Regions from separate parts of the Homo sapiens genome. Here region 2 is linked to region 1. Evidence: promoter capture Hi-C in human tissues and cell types (Jung and others, 2019). All regions are on one chromosome and are shown on one strand. Each heading gives the region's core, a stretch centred on a gene start or on the middle of the fragment in contact. The rest is flanking DNA. Distances are from core to core; before and after follow the strand shown. Region 1 holds the start of AKT1 (AKT serine/threonine kinase 1). Region 2 overlaps KLC1 (kinesin light chain 1).

The links. Contacts are between HindIII fragments. The study calls those that stand out against the background at their distance.
Region 2: a fragment that was not itself captured here is called in contact with the fragment with the promoter of AKT1 in region 1 in 1 of the 25 tissues and cell types used here (lymphoblastoid cells).

The regions. Positions count from the first base shown.
Region 1 is chr14:104,793,974-104,798,955 of GRCh38, reverse strand. AKT1 (AKT serine/threonine kinase 1) reads left to right here and starts at 3,208. Exons shown (of 15, transcript NM_001382430.1): 1 at 3,208-3,472. RefSeq lists enhancers at 514-1,286, 1,287-2,059, 4,101-4,742, 4,743-4,982 and silencers at 2,897-3,256, 3,437-3,486, 3,517-3,836. The HindIII fragment of the contact is 31,557 bases long and covers 1-4,982 here.
Region 2 is chr14:103,656,104-103,661,088 of GRCh38, reverse strand. It overlaps KLC1 (kinesin light chain 1), which reads right to left. Exons shown (of 17, transcript NM_001394837.1): 3 at 3,313-3,543. Among named protein-coding and RNA genes, the nearest start is that of KLC1, 29 kb to the right of the region's middle. The HindIII fragment of the contact is 3,897 bases long and covers 1,615-4,985 here.

The sequences.
Region 1 (4,982 bases), core at 1,959-4,458:
TGACTGCTCCCTTCCTGCCCTGCCTGGATCACAGCCCTGCCCCGGCCCCTCCCAACCTTGAGCACGACCAAACCTTTAACCTCTTTGAACCTCAGTAATCCTCATCTGCAAAATGGGAGTCAGAGTGCATCCCGGGGTCTTCGTGAACATTAACGACAGGGCCTGGCACTCAGCAAGCTCTCAGGCTCTGGAATGTTCTTCCCCAAAGAACCCTTCACTGGTTTCTCTTCATCCCTGTCTCTGCTGAAAGTCCACTCCTTAGTCAGGGTGGCCATTCCTGCCCACCTTCGCTAAGTTCCCTCGCAGTCCCTTCTGCTGCATACCCTCCTTTCCAGCCCATTCCGGGTGTCCTGTGATTGTGGGATATTCCAGCACCTTCTGAAAGGGAAGGGGCTGTTTGGTCACTTGGTGCTTAAAAGTTGGCAGGACGCAAGTGGGTGTTCAGTAAATGTTTGTTGAGTGAATGTGTGACGGTTGCTTCTGTGAGTGATTACGATGGTCCCACCATCCCTAATCCTGACTCCTCTGTGGCAACATTCCAGCCCTGCCTGCCCACACCCCCAGCCCCTGAACCTTCAGAGCAAGTAGGGGTGGCCTGCCACACTGGGGCTCTGGGCAACAGGCTGACAGCTCCCCACTGCAGGCTGGGAGCAAGCACCCTAGCCTGCCCTGCCTGGCTGGCGGGACAGAGAGAGCCTGGACACTTAATGGGGGTTGTGGTACACAGGGAGGGTCAGGATGCTGCCTTCAGGAGCCTAGGGTAGGACCTGGAAGGAGGGCCCAGCTAGGAATGGGCTAGATGAAGGGGAGGGGACAGTGGGAGAGAAGCTCCTTATCCCTCTCAGGTCGGGATGTCTGGGTTCAAGTCCCTCCTGCCCCACACCGATCAGGGAAGGGGGGCTGTTCCAGGCAGAGACCGCCCAGAGTTGGTGCTGGGATCCTGGCCAGCCTGTAGTCCTCAGAGCCCCTGTGACTGGCTGGGTCTCAAGTGCAGGAATGACAGGACACCGTCACACAGCCACTGTCGCGGCGGTGGTGGTTCAGGCAGAACCTCTGCAGACTCAGGCGGCCATCTGGCCTGGGAGCTGCCCTGAGGCCCCGCCCTGCAGCTGCTGCTGGGACCTACACAGCCCAGGGCCCTCGAGTCCTGCCCCCGGCCAGCAGCTGCAGAAGGTGACAGGGCAGGAGGCCCCTGAGCTCTGGGAGGAGGCAGCCGTCGGGCCCTTCCCTGGTGCAGCAGTTTTTGTCGGAAACATCTGGCCACAGAGCACCTCAGCAGTCCCAGCAGCAGCCGTGGGGCTGGGTTCTCTCCTGACCATTCTGTCTGGGGTGGGAGGGGGTGTTCTTGAAGAGAGGACTCTGCTTTCCCTCTGGGACGCTGGAGGAGAGGGAGATGGCCCTGCCCACTGGGAGATCCCCGTCTTGGGGGAGGGCAGTTCATGCCAAGGTGAAGACAGGACTGGAGTGTGGGGCCCACAGTGGGTTGCAGGCACCAGCAGATGCCAGGGCACCAGGCTGGGAAGACTGGGAGGCCTCCTTGGAGACAGCCAGTGCAAAATAAGCAAGAGGTCCAACCACTTCAAGAACAGCCCGCAATGTCACTGCCTCTTCCATGAGAGGGTGCCCTGCTCCCTCCCACATCCCCAAGCCTCGGCCACTTGCTGGCCTTGTCTCATGGCCCTCTTACCCTCTGCTTCCTCCCTGAATTCCTTCCTCCATCCTTGCATGGCAGAGCCCAGGATGGTGGACAGATACCAGGAACTCTTCCTCGGGGAGCAGTGGGCAGGTGGGACAGTCCCAGAGGGAGCCCCAGGTGGCTCATGGTGCAGGTTTGCTGGGTGAGAGACAGACACCAGACGCCCAGGCTCTGGGGGCAACCCTTGTGTCAGGTATCCCACCCAAGCGGCGCAGACCACTGGGCCTCTGACTTGGCCCCCTGGAGGTGGGCCCTTCCTGGGGTTACAAAGTCTGAGCTGGGAGGGAGCAGAGGTGCTCAGGCGAGAGGCAGGAATGGGGAGTCCCCTGTCTGAGGAGCGAGTGCCCTCATGCAGGGGGAGAGAGTCCTTCTCTTGGTCAGCCCCAAGAGGCAGGGATGAAGCCCGAGTTTTGGCTGCAGACTCTGTCCTGAGCACTGGGCCGAACCTGCTGCCTCTGTCTGCATCTCCTCCCACCCCCTCCCCTGCTGCCAGCTGAACTCACTCTGGCTGAAAATAAAAATGCTCCCCCAACCCCAATACTTAGCAGCCTCAGGAAGGTAACTCACAAGAGTCTGTCTTTCACAAAAGGGTTATTATCAACTGTGGGCCTCTGGAATGGGGGAGGGGCAGTTGTCGGAGGAACTTCTGGCTAGGAAGGGGTCGGGGTGGCAGTCACCTGCACTCTCCTGTGAGTGTCCAGGAGAAAGGGGTCTGTGTCCCACTTACTCATTCCATACCCGGGCCATCTGCCTCCCAGTGGACTTCGGACTGGGTGTCCGGGCTGACCAAGTCCACCCAGCAGGGAGGGCTCTGGGCTGTCAGCTGTCACAGCCCACCCTAGACACCGCTCCTCCTCTGTCTGGTGTCTGCTCCCAGCTCAAGGTGGGAGCCAGGCAAGGTGTGCCCCTCTTCTCCCACTCCCCAGCAAAGTCCCCCTTTTGTGAGTGTAGCTGCCAGTACCTAGGTGAATGGTTGACTCCCCTCGGAGCCTTCCTGCTCCTTGGAGGCCCACCTCCAACTGACCTCCTGTCCTGGCATCCTCCCGCACTTCCCCCAGAGGCACAAGGTCTTGGGATTGGGCCTTTTAGGTCACTCTTGGCCGCCCCCTCCACGCCCCCCAGAGTGGGGCAGCCTGAAAGTCAACCTAAGCCACCCCCGCCCCGCGCGCGGAGGCAGAAGTCCGGGATTCGTCCCTGACCTGTCTCGGGCCCCTTCTGCTAGGGTCACGGCAGAGCGAGCCCAGAAGCGCCGGGTCACTTTACAGACGGGGAAACTGAGGCCAGAGAGGGCGTGGCCCCGGGACGGGCTGGCTGGTGGCCGGGCTCCGTTAGCGGCCCAGCCCAGGCCCCAGGTCGTCGGGAGCTGCCCCTCAGCCCGGCCGCGCGCTCCCCGAGCGCGCTCCGCCCTCGCCGCCGGCCGCGCGGTGGGGACGCCCCGGGCGGCGGAGGCGGATGTGGGCGGGCGGCTCCGGGCGCGGGGCGGGCGCGGGGCGGGGAGAGGGCGGGCCGGCGGCGGCGGCAGGACCGAGCGCGGCAGGCGGCTGGCCCAGCGCACGCAGCGCGGCCCGAAGACGGGAGCAGGCGGCCGAGCACCGAGCGCTGGGCACCGGGCACCGAGCGGCGGCGGCACGCGAGGCCCGGCCCCGAGCAGCGCCCCCGCCCGCCGCGGCCTCCAGCCCGGCCCCGCCCAGCGCCGGCCCGCGGGGATGCGGAGCGGCGGGCGCCGGAGGCCGCGGCCCGGCTAGGCCCGCGCTCGCGCCCGGACGCGGCGGCCCGGTGAGTCCCCGCCCGCCGTGGCCGCCCGGGCCTGGATTTCCTCCCCGCGGGCCGGGCCGCTTTGTTCGCGGCCGGTCGGGCCGGGGCGCGAGCCGCGGCGCCGCCAGAATGGAGGAGCGGGAGCAGGAAGTGGCCGAGCGGGCCTGGGCGGGGAGGGCGCGGGGCGCGCGGGCCCGGCCAAGGGAGGGCGGCCCCACGCCGGGCGCCGGGGGTGCAGGCTGCCGGCCCCAGCCTCCCTCATGACCTTGGGGAGGCCGCTCCGCCGGGCGAGGCCGGGACCCGAGAGAAGGGACGCCGCCGGGCCTGGAGCTGGGGCTCGGGGTGCCCCTGCGGGCCGTGGGGCTCCCCGGGCGCTGGGCCAGCGAGGCAGCCGGCGGAGGTGCCCCGGGGTTGGAGAAAGACTCGCCGCGGCCGGCCTTCAAGTTTGTGGGAGGGCCCCGGAAGGAGACTTCGTTTCCCACGGACGAAAAGTTGTACGTGGTGGCGGGGTACCCAGGCTAGCCACAAAGGACTGTGACCCTCCTGGGCCCCGGAACTGCTTCCTGTCTTGGGTGGGCCCTGGAGGTCCTGCCCGCCCATCCCAGAGGCCAAGGCTTGGAGGGCAGCTGGGGCTTGCCCCTTAGATTGAGTATCCTGGGGCGCTAGCGAGCTTGGTCCTGTCGGGACGGCCTCTGAGTGCTGCCTTGGTCAGCGGGTGAGCTTGGGCCCCTGCTCTGCAGCCAGAGGCCGCCCCACATTCACTCCTGGGTCTCTCGGCCTTGCTCCAGGTGGCCACTTCTTGACTGCTTTGAGTCCCTCATCCGAGCGAAGGGCGGACGGAGTCCGTTGGTGGGGGTCCGGTTGCCTCTCCCGGGAGCTGTGTAGACTTCTCATACACCAGGGTTCTGGAGGCAGATGGAGGAGCCCTTTCGAAAACAGAGTATTTTTTTTTAAGTTGTGACTTAATAATAGTAGCAAGAATATGTGCTTATGGTAAAGGCAGGCGGCAGGTACGGAGGCTGTGGGAAGTCGGGGTCCCTCCGCCCCCACAGGCAGCCCTGTGCTGGCCTGGTGTATACGTTTCTGTGCAGACGTACACCACCCTGTGTGAGCACAGATGTATTTTTACACATGGCTCTGGACAGCTGTCTGACTCTGTCAGCAGCAGGCCTTGGAGGGGCTCAGGCCCGTGTGGGGGTGGGGGGACATCCAGAGGTCTTTGAGTCCAGCCCTCTGCCTCCAGGCCACGCCCACTCAGTGTCGTCAGAGCCCCCTGTGCCTGAGGCGTGCGCGGCTCGGAGCCCTGCCCTCGGAGTCCTGCGGTGCCTTCCTCGAGTCTGGCCTGCTTTCCATCCTGCTAAGTACTTGGGGCATTTCCCTCTTTGGGTAAGGTGTGGTCTTCCCTGTCCTGGCATTAGACACAAGGCAGTGGGCCTTCCTGCCATTCTAAGTGTAGCTTAAGACAATCAGTGCAAAGCAACCCTTTGTGGGTGTCCAGCCCTTGCCTCGGGAGGCCAGAAAGGTGGCCTGG
Region 2 (4,985 bases), core at 2,314-4,813, 1.1 Mb after region 1:
CATGCTATGCCACTATGTGAACAGGTTTCAGAAGAAACAGGCACTCGTAAGTACTCTGGAAAGGGTAAGGAGAGCCAGCTCACTGGATGTTTTCTCCAAGTTTAACACTTTTTCAAAATAATAAATTTTAAAAGTCTCCGATCCTACGAAACCAGTTTTCTTCTTCTCAACATCCTCCAATGTCCCAGGTCAATCACTGCTGGCATCGACATCTGCAAAGTACTTGCATTTCCATAGCACTCTAGAGCAAGCATCTTTTATTTATTTATTTATTTATTTATTTATTGCTTGTTTTTCTGAGACAGGGTCTCCCTCTGCCACCCAAGCTGGAGTACAGCGGCATGATCTTGGCTCACTGCAACCTCCAACTCCCAGGTTCAAACAATTCCATGCCTCAGCCTCCCAAGTAGCTGGGACCACAGGTGCACTCTACCACACCCAGCTAATTTTTTTGTATTTTTTAATAGAGAAGGGGTTTTGCTATGTTGGCCAGGCTGGTCTTGAACTCCTGGCCTCAGGTAATCCACCCGCTTCAGCCTCCCAAAATGTTGGGATTACAGGCATGAGCCACCGCATCGGCCTTAATTTTTTTTTTTTTTTTCTTTTTTGAGACAGAGCTTTACTCTGTCATCTAGACTGGAGTGCGGTGGCATGATCTTGGCTCACTGCAACCTCCATCTCCTGGGTTTAAGCGATTCTCCTGCCTCAGCCTCCTGAGTAGCTGGGATTACAGGTATGTGCCACCATGCTTGGCTAATTTTTGTATTTTTAGTAGAGATAGGGTTTCACTATATTGGCCAGGCTGTCCTCCAACTCCTGACCTCAGGTGATCTGCCTGCCTCGGCCTCCCTAAGGGCTGGGATTACAGGCATGAGCCACTGCGCCCAGCCACATCTTTTAAATCAAAACATTTAGTTGGCCCCTAACCTAGAGGAGATGTGAGGGAGGATTTTGGTAAGCCTTTTGAAATAGCATGCTGTCAACTAAACTGTGTTCTCCCCAAATTCCTATGTTAAAGCCCTAACCCCCAGTGTAATGGTATTTAGAGATGAAACCTTTGGGAGGTGATCAGGATAAGATGAGCTCGAAAGTGTGGGGCCCTCATGATGGGATTAGTGCCCTCATAAAAAGAGACACCAGAGAGCTTACTCCCTCTCTCTCTGTACCATATGAGAACACAAAGAGATGGCAGCAGTCTGCAAGCCAGAAAGAAGGCCCTCCCCAGAACCGGACCCTGCTGGTACCCTGATCTCGGACTTCCAGAACTATGAGAAAATAAATGTTAAGCCATCCAGCCCGTGGTATTTGTTACAGTAGCCCAAGCAGATGAAGACAGAGGGGAAATGCAGGTTTGCTGGTGCTACGCAAAAAACTGTTTCAGTAGTCTTAGGATGGGGATTCGAACGAGACACACAAATGTGCACCTCTCTAGTATTCTGATTATGTACATGAACATGTCTGGCATCATACAGGTATTTAAAAAACGTTAGTTCCAAATGCAATGTGGAACACTGGACTAGGTCCTAGCACAGAAAAGAGATACTAGTGGAAGGCCTGGTGACATCCAACCAAGTCTGTGTTTCAGTTAACAGTAAAGTGTTGATGTTAATATCTTAGTTCTGACCACTGTTCTATGATTATGGACGATCAGGGGAGACTGGGTTATGGGCACATCAATTTTCTTCTCTAACTTTTCAACTTTTCAATCAATTTAAAATTATTCCATTGGAAACTTGAGAGGAGGGTAAAATTTTTAAAATTAAAAATAAGTAAAATAAAATAATTCCAAAATTTAGAAATTTTCTTTAAAAAGAAGTTAACTGAAGCCGGTCGTGGTGGCTCACGCCTGTAATCCCAGCACTTTGGGAGGCCGAGGCGGGGGGATGACCTGAGGTCAGGAGTGGCCAACATGGTGAAACCCCATCTCTACTTAAAATACAAAAATTAGCCAGTCGTGGCGGTACGCACCTGTAATCCCAGCTACTTGGAAGGCTGAGAAGGGAGAATCGCTTGAACCCAGGAGGTGGAGGCTGCAGTGAGCCAAGATCGCGCCATTGCACTCCAGCCTGGGGTACAAAAGCGAGACTTCGTCTCAAAAAAAAAGTAAAAAAAAAAATAAAAAGAAGTTAACTGGCTGGGCGCAGTGGCTCACACCTGTAATCCCAGCACTTTGGGAGGCCGAGGCAGGCAGATCACAAGGTCAGGAGATCAAGACCATCCTGGCTAACGCAATGAAACCCTATCTCTACTAAAAATACAAAAAATTGGCCAGGCGTGGTGGCACACACCTGTAGTCCCAGCTACTCGGGAGGCTGAGGCAGGAGAATCGCTGGAGCCCGGGAGGTGGAGGTTGCAGTGAGCCAAGATCGTGCCACTGCACTCCAGCCTGGGTGACAGAGTGAGACTCCATCTCAAAAAAAAAAAAAAAAAAAGTTAACTGAATCAGAAATAAATGTTGAATGAAAAATAACTGAGACTAGGATAAACATCCAAATAGAGCCAACAGAGAAAGAAGGCTGGGCATGGTGGCTCCCACCTGGAATACCAGCACTTTGGGAGGCTGAGGTGGGCAGATCACTTGAGGCCAGGAGTTCAAGACCAGCCTGGCCAAAACAGTGAAACCTCATCTCTACTAAAAAAAAAAAAAAAAAAAAAAAAAACTTAGCTGGGCATGGTGTCACACACCTGTAATCCCAGCTACTCCAGAGGCTGAGGCAGGAGAATCACATGAACCCGGGAGATGGAGGTTGCAGTAAGCCAAGATTGTGCCATTGCACTCCAGCCTGAGTGACAGAGCGAGACTCCTTGTAAAAAAAAGAAGAAGAAGAAAACCAAGATCGTTTCTTCCCCTGCAGATACAGAAAGATAAGCTGGCAAGGGAAGCCAAGGGGAGGATGAGAGAGGCGGCAAGAGAGCCAGGTGGTGTCCAGAGGGCCAGGGGAGTTTCAAAGAGAATGGCAATGCCAAGAGCACCCACCCTAAGGGGCAGAGAGGTTGCCCAGAGTCCAAATTCAGACGGCCAGATTGGACCACTGCTAGACCAGCAGCTGATGGCATGGAAGCCAAGCTACAGAGGGGCAAGGAAGCTCCAGAGCCTAAGCTGGGGCAGACCTCGGGACAGACCTCGGGGCAGACCTTGTTGAAGGTAATGGTGTCTCTCTGGATTGTGGCTTATATTTACAAAACATTTTTGCATGTTCTAATGTTCTAATATGTTCTAATATGAAAAGAATATGGCAAACAGAACCTCTATGACTTTCCCAGTGACTCCATTTTAAACATTAGCACCACATTTGCTACAGAGCCACTCACGGATGGGGAAATGTCGTCATCATATTTTTTTAGCTGATTCATAAACTCCAGATGCTTCTTCTCCTCCTCCAGTTGAGCCACAGACTGCTCACTCTTCTGCAGTTTCTGCTGCGTGTTGGCCAGTTCATCCCGTAGCCACTGATTCTCCTGGCACAGACGACGAACCTGCGCACGCAGTTTCTGCTTCTCGGACTCCACAGCATTCAGGTGATTTGACAAAGCCATCATAACCTGAGCAGACAGAAACGTGTGCAGCACTGTGGCACGTTGTCCAGCAAGAGTCCCTCCCACCCGTGCGAACATTCTGTGGCTGGGGCTGTAGCTTACACTCGCAGATATTTTCTCCAAAGTACATATAAGTACAATCTGCCATTTACTTCTCTTTTCCCCTTCAGCCACAGACTACAAAGCAGGGTATGATAAAGAATATCACACGCTCAGAATGCCTACAAAAAAATACTTATTTTTTTGAAGAGCATGCCAAATGAACTAGCAATGAAAACACAGCTACCCTTCTGATGAAACTGTATTATTTTACTTTCTATCAAGATGGGCCCAACATAATTTTTTATAGACCCTTTCCCATGTGTAAGACCTCGTGTACACACATGCATGTCTGCGCACAGAGTGCATGTTGGTGAAGGGCTGCAAGTGGGGGTCAGAGAACAGTGCACATACAAATCTTCCTTGATGTTCCAAGGTGAGAGAAGACATCTCTGTAGCTACCACCAAGAGTAAGAATGCACTGGTGCACTCATAAGCTTATGTTTATGTCATAAAATCCAGGGGCCACTCCAGGGCTCTGCCTACAGAGTGCTCACTGGTTTCTGGAACAGACCAGCGTGAGGCTGTGGCAAGTTCCTAGGAGCATAAGAGCACAAACAGCTAGGAGCTGGCTGGCAGCAATCTGTTCTCTCTTTAGAACATACATCTGCCCATCCCTCTCATAACATAATAACCAGGTTATTATCCTCCTAGGTTTAAAACCTGAAACTCCAGAAGGTGGGACCTTTTCTTCCTTCTTTTTTTAAAACTCTTATCTGCGACACCAAAAAAGCAAGTTTAAATTCATGTCACCTGTTCTCAAGGTAACAGAACTTGAGAAATAATACGTTCACAATATCCAAACAGAGCTACAGTTCTGCAACTCAAGGCTGTAACATGGTTAGGATGAAGACTCTAAAATCAGGGTGTGGGCAGTCACTTCCTCTATGAAAGCAGAAACCGCTGGCCAGCAGCCCCTCTTCTGCTCTATTCACTCACTAAACTAGAGAATGCTAAGAAAGAAGCAAAGCTTTGGTATATTTAATTTTACCTAAGATATGCTGACAGAGCCAGAAGTTATCAGGAGAGAGTATTTAAAAACCTAGATGTTTCCAGTGTTTTCATCTCTATGTCAAGCATGATATTATAGAAACAAAGGTTAGTCAAAGATATGAAGCAATCTGGCCCTGGGATTGCAGAGACCATCACCCACTGGCCAGTGTCCATTCTCCTTCCTTAGGCTTAAGGACCTGCCACTGTAAGTGGGAAGACAACATTCCCCAGTCTCCCACTCACCCAGGTACAGCCATAAGGTCTGGCCAATGCAATGTAAGCACTGCTGTACACATCATCAAAGCAGCAGCCTTCAAGGAAGGAGGCACGTCCTTCCTTTCCCTTCCCCTATGCTA